Regions from separate parts of the Homo sapiens genome. Here region 1 is linked to region 2. Evidence: promoter capture Hi-C in 16 types of primary human blood cells and fetal thymus (Javierre and others, 2016). All regions are on one chromosome and are shown on one strand. The core of a region is centred on a gene start or on the middle of the fragment in contact, and the rest is flanking DNA. Distances in the headings are between cores, read along the strand shown.

What was found. Contacts are between HindIII fragments. The CHiCAGO score rates a contact against its expected background, and 5 or more counts as called.
Region 1: a contact is called between a fragment that was not itself captured here and the fragment with the promoter of TMC3 in region 2, in 1 of 17 cell types (total B cells). The highest score is 5.9, in total B cells.

The regions. Positions count from the first base shown.
Region 1 is chr15:81,151,894-81,155,059 of GRCh38, forward strand. No RefSeq gene overlaps it. Among named protein-coding and RNA genes, the nearest start is that of CFAP161, 19 kb to the left of the region's middle. The HindIII fragment of the contact is 5,994 bases long and covers 1-3,166 here.
Region 2 is chr15:81,372,387-81,375,499 of GRCh38, forward strand. It overlaps TMC3 (transmembrane channel like 3), which reads right to left and starts at 1,827. Exons shown (of 22, transcript NM_001080532.3): 1 at 1,603-1,827; 2 at 205-351. The coding sequence starts at 1,691. All of the region lies in intron 5 of TMC3-AS1 (TMC3 antisense RNA 1), which reads left to right. The HindIII fragment of the contact is 5,020 bases long and covers 1,369-3,113 here.

The sequences.
Region 1 (3,166 bases), core at 656-3,155, 220 kb before region 2:
GAAATATCTGTTAAGTGAATGAATGAATGAATCAACAGATGAATGGATCCGTAACTTTTACAGAGGAGCCAGGCTTAGAGATTTGTTCAGGGACACAGCTCCTAAACAGCAGAGCTGGGGCAGGACCAAGTCAGATTCTTCTATCCCTTCTTCTGGACAAGGGCCTTCTAATCTAATTTTTTTTCTAATTCTTTGTTGTGGTTGCTTTCCTGTGCATTATAAGATGTTTGCCAGCATCCCTGGCCTCTGCTCACTAGATGAAGTAGCACCCCTCCACTCATGACAACACAAAGCGTCTCTAAACATTGCTAAATGTCCCTGGGAGGGGTCTGCTATTTAAGGACCAATAGTCTAGACCTACTTCTAGCTGTTTTTTATTTGCCATTTATAAAGGATGCTGTAAAATGGGTATTTATCTCTCTCTCTCTCTCTCTCTCCTTCCTTTTCTTTCTTTCCTTTTTTTGTGTCCTATAGAGATTAGAATATGTGGTCTCTAACATGACTTCCAGATATATTAATAATCTGCTTTTAGCATCTGAGCTGGACTTTGATGGAAACTTAGAATATTGGCAGGGGGAGACTGGCTCTCCAGGATGCAGCCGCTGTATGGACCTGTGTACAGTGACTTTGGCACACAGCACCTCTGCAGCGACCTCCAGTGTGGGGCACAGAGATGCTCATTGAGATGTGAAAAGAAGAGTTTAGAACTCTGCGTATATCATTATTTTATCCTTTAAAGTGCATTAATGTGTGTGTGCTTTATACGATCCAAAATAGTTTTTATTTTTTACCTTTAAAAAAGTTTATCTTTTTATTTTTACACTTCATTGTGTAAAATTGACAAAATATTAGTTTTTTTTCTTTTTTTGAGACAAAATGTTTTTAAATGTACATGACATTTTAGCTTAATGGGCATGAGTAAAATTTATTAATAGAATTACATATAAATGTATGTGTGTAGCAAATACCCAAAAGGATTGCTTATTGGGAAGGGTGCACAATCACAAATTGTGGAGAGCATCCTGCGTGCTGTGTGCAGTCATTCATTATACAGAAAATGCCACTGAGTCACTTGCTGCAACGATGCCTGCACAGCTTTGTCCTGAGTCATGGACAATGGGCTCCTCCCAGCTCTAAGGTTCACTTTCTTTCAATTGAACAAATGTTTATGAATTGTTTGACAGTAAGGAACAAGGTAAGGACTCTGCAAATGCAAGAGAGAGGGAAGAGGAGACCATCTGTGTGATTACGCACAGGCCATGCTGAAATCCCAGTAGAAGGACCGCATTACTTATACCTGGAGTCCAGGGAAGCCTGCCTTCAGATGACACTTGAGCTGGAAAGGACACACATGGGAAGAGCATTCCAGGCAAAGGAGACTGCGTTTGCAAAGGGCCAACACCTCTCCTGGGGAGAAGTGGGGACTGGCAAGAGACATTCAAAATGGGCTGTGTGCTGGTACACTCAGCATGGCTATACTGGCTGTTAAAATACGATAATGTCTCCAACCTGGTTGGAAAATAGCTACTGACTCAAGCCCCTAAAGTGCCCCCTGTAACCCTGGCACCTCCCTGGAGACCCTTGGATTTCCCTACAACCAGCAACTAAAGGGTTAATGTTCAGCCCAATGGTGGGGCCTGCAAGACCCTACCCCACCATGGTGCCTGGAGTTTGTTTTATTTGGCTAATATCCAGTGATACTCAAGAAAAACTATAGAGGTGGTTAACTATTTTGAATATCACTCTTGGCTTCATGTATCAATTATCGAACTTGAATTTGATCTTGAAGGTGATGGTCAGCCTGTGAAAGGCTTTGAGGAGGAAAGTGTCATGATTTTACTTTAAAAAGATGATTATGGAGGCACGGGAGGAGGAACTGATGCGGCTTTGAACTAAGGCAGTGTCAGGAAGCACTGGGAAAAGGGCATGGGTTAGAGAGAGGCCAGGAAGAGAGAGACAGGACTCTATAGCTTGGTGGGTATAAGGCCAGGAGAGAAGGAGAAGGTGGACACTCAGATTTGGGGCACATGCCTCTCCCTGAGATTCAAACCCAGTAGGAAAAACAGGTGCACAGGAAAGGTGACAAGCAGTCATCTGGGAATGTCTGGTCCCTGAGTGGAGGTTGTTTTGGTGTGGATATAGCTGCAACCCACCTACAGTGCTGTCATCTGCTAGGCTGTTTGTCTCTATCACACTCACCTAAGTCTTGGGTAACTGATAGCAAATACAACTTTGGGATTGAAGAGCACCTTTAGCATCCTGCCAGCGGGAGCAAGGAAGAAACCAACGAGCCCAGTGGCTAGGGTTCTCCATGTCCTAGCTCCAAGAACTTCACCTTTGAGGGCTTCTGAGAGGACTGGATATGTTAGCTACGCAAAAGCAGGTGCCCACGTGTGAAAGGGCCTCTGTTGCTCCCCCTCCACCTTCCTATGAATTTAATATGTGTACATCCCAGTCAGTAAGTGAGTTCATCTTTATCACATTTGGTTCCATACCTGGAGGAGGACTCGACTCCTTTCCCATATACAGTAGACATTTTTGCATTCAACCAGATCCAGCAGACATCATTGACTATTTTATACCAGGTCTTGAGGTAGACACTGGGGATCCAGTGGGGAGTAAATGTGTTCCTACCTTTAAGGCTTCCACTGCAGAGAGGGTCAGAAGGGAGATGAGACATTGAAGGAGGTAGAGGGGTCAGAGTGTGGCAGTCTATATTAATATATGGAGCATTTGGGAGCCACCACATATTTTTGAGCAAGGGAGAGATAGGACAGGAAAGGAAGGTTAGTCTGGGAGTGAGGGGTATGAGGTAATTGAAGGAGGTCATTTGTGAGTCTGAAATTACAGTTGGTGAAAGCCCCCAAAGGCTTAAACCTGAGGAGAACAAAGCTGAAGTCTGATTAATGGGTTTTGGCAGATTTTTTTCCCCAATATCCCTTCAAAGGCAAAAAATAATAGAGACACTGTTTTTTCCATTAGTAAATACACTCAACGTCTCCTTATTTGTCTGTAGCTGTTTCAAAAGAAAATAGCTTTGTTTTTAAGAGCAACTGTGTAGGCCCCGGTGTAGCTCATGCCTGTACTCCTAGTACTTTGGGAATTTGAAATCAGTCTGTGCAACATAGAACCCATCTTTACAAAAAATTAAAAAAAATTAGCCAGG
Region 2 (3,113 bases), core at 577-3,076:
CACACACACACACACACACACAGAGGAACTGGCTTCTGGACCAGCTAGACCTCTCAGATATCTTTGTGACTTTGCTAATTCAGGTCAAGAGTGACTGAGCCATCTCTCTCACATGAGTCTTTATCCTCGTTCCCATGGGCAAGGCAAGGTGGTTTATCGGAAAGCATGCTTGTAATGATCAATAATGGCCATTGAGGCCCTTACCTCAATGCCCTCAGCTTCTGTCCCATAGTCCAGGGTCTGCAGCGAATGTTTGCCATGAGATCTTTCTGGAACTGTATATTCTGGAAGATTTGTTCCGGATCATTGCTGTCCCCTGTTTCATCAGCACTAAAGCTGTCATCCAAGTTGCTGAATGATCAGGGCATTAAGGAGGAAATCTGATTAGAAGAATTGCTTCCAGCAAAGATCATCTTGCCCTGGGCACAAGTTCAGCATCTCACTGCCCTAGGGTCATCTGTATGAAATGTGTATGTGTTTGTGCGTGTGTGTGTGTGTGTGTGTGTGTGTGTAAAGTGAGGGACCCACAGAAACAGATAATTTGCCAGTGTCAGTAGCCTGTTGAAACACATTTATTGGATTCAATTACTTCCACTGGGTCATTAGAAGATAATGATTTCTCAGGGTGCATGATATTATCAGAAAACACAAGATGAGACAAGAGGGTATTTACGTACTCTTGGATTCCTGAGTAGCAGCAATTTGGGTAGGCAAAATAATTTCTTTTTCAGGCTCATTGAAATAATCAGCTAATTTTAGAGGCAGGACTCCTTATGTTACTTGAAGGTAACATAAATCAAAACTTCTGCCACTCAGAAACCCCTCTTCACCCTTTCACGTCAATTCATTTTAAGCCTGAGATAACCGAGGCAGAGCCAGGCAAAGCAATTTCTACGAGCGAAAGATTAGCTAAGCAAATTTACATGGGTGAGATATTTCAGGAAATAGATACTCTCAAGAGGAACAATTTTCCAACATGTAGCAACATTTACTCCCAGTTACACTTAATATGCTTATCCTAATGCAACATTTTGAGAGGAGTTAAGAGTATTCATCTATGACTATTAGAAATAAAAGATTTCGTTTGTTATTCTCTAATTCATGTTGTTTTTACTCATTTAGAGGAGAATTTTTTTCAATTTCACCAAATTAAATGGCAGCTGTACTAGACCTTTATAAATATTTAACAAATTCGAATAGCACTCTCATCCACTTCTAACTAGCCTGAAGGCTTTTCCAATAAACACTTTATTTATCATGATAGACATATTATCTGCTCTCTCTTGACATTGCTGATTGAGTGAACATAGAGAAAACAGGGAAACATATCTGTGGGTTTGGCCAGCCATAAAGCCAGGTTGGGATGCAAGCTTTTGGATTCTGACCTCCTGGTCAAGAAGCAGCCAGAAGAACCATTTCCCCCCATGCCCGTTGCTGAGGTTGCCATCCTAGTTGTACCACAACCTGGAGAAGTGAGTTTCTGAGTTCATTCTGAAGGACAACTGAGCAGGACAGGGACTTTGTCCCTCGCTCTGGTGACCCATGCATTCCTTCCTCACACACCTGACTCCTCTGCCCAGCTGATGAATGGGGCCAGCTCACCTGAGCAGCAGAGATTCCTGGTAGAGGTAGCACTGGCTGGCATTTCTCCGGATGCCTCTATAGCGCTGGGATGCCTTCGAGGTTTTCATGGGAGCTAACCCACTGCTAACAATCAGAAGCTGGCCAGAGAGCTAGGAAGTTGGCAGGCAAAGGTCTGTTCCGAGGTTTCTGAATGGAAGCAGCGGAGTTTGCTCTGCCCGCTAGTTCTCAGGAAGAAGACTGTGTGCTTGCAGCTGGTGCTCTGAGCAGGGAAGAATCCAGGAGGCCAGTCATGCATATGTAATGTTAAGGTGGCTGAGGCACACAGATTGGCTGGAGTCTAGACAGCCAAGGGTTTGGCCCGGTGATCTACACATCGCTTGGTGCTGTACAAATGATCACATCCGTTAACCCCTTATGCCCTGACAGTCCTGGATGGTTTGCAAAACACTTTACATCTGTGACCATGACTGGTGTTCACAAAACACTGAGGGAGTATAAAAGGCAAGGCTTAATTTCCCCAGTTTTTTACTCTCAACGAAGAGGCTTAGAGACAGTAAGGACCTTGCTTGTGTTCATACAGTGGAGTTGAGGAGAGGCACAGCCATCACATTTTATTTTTTCTTATTTAGTTTTTTCTCAACTTAGTTTCTATTTTGAAAAAAGTCAAATCCTTAGAAATGCTGATGGAACAGTACCAGGAATATCTGTACACTCTTAACCTAGATTTACCAATTGCCACATTTTGCCACAATTGCTTTATTTCTGTCTGTATCCTTCCCCCACCACACACCATTTGAAAGTAGATTGCAGAAATAATGATACATCAACCCCAAGTACTTCAGCATGATATTAATAATAATCAAATTAACATCTTATTACATTTTACCTTTACCATACATGGTCACATTAATGAGCACTATGACTCTGAGACTGAGGCTAAAAGAAATAAAGAGACTTCCTATAGCATTTGGTAAGAAAGGAAGACTTTGATAGAGATTAGACTCTCACCTCAATGTTCTGAAAATAGGTTGCCTGCTGTAAAATGGGATGAGTAGTTCATCCTAGTCCTTCAGCAAAGGTCAGCAGCTTCTCCTCCCCTTCCCCAGCCATCAGCAGAATGGAGCCCGGTTCCTTTGTCACCTGCAGACTCTCACTGTTAGCCATGCATTGGGATTCTGTTCCAAGAACCTCATTCCCAAGTCCAAGACTTGCCTGGTTTCACAGTGTAAACCTCTATTTGCTACTTAACACAAGAAATGGTTTGACTGCAGTGAGGTAAATTGCACCTTTGTAGTAACAGAATGGGAAGGTGCAGGACTGGAGTAGACATGACTCTTTCTATTGAACATTACCCACTGCACACTAAAGACTCAATAAATGGGTGAATAAATAACTGAAGTGGACACCAGACAACGGAGCAGAAAGAAAATCCATCAGCAAGTTCAGATGTGGGGCTTCGGAGAGAAACTTCATTCATTTGTCCATTCAATCCTCCACTAATTCATTAGCAAATAATTGGAAAGATCTTA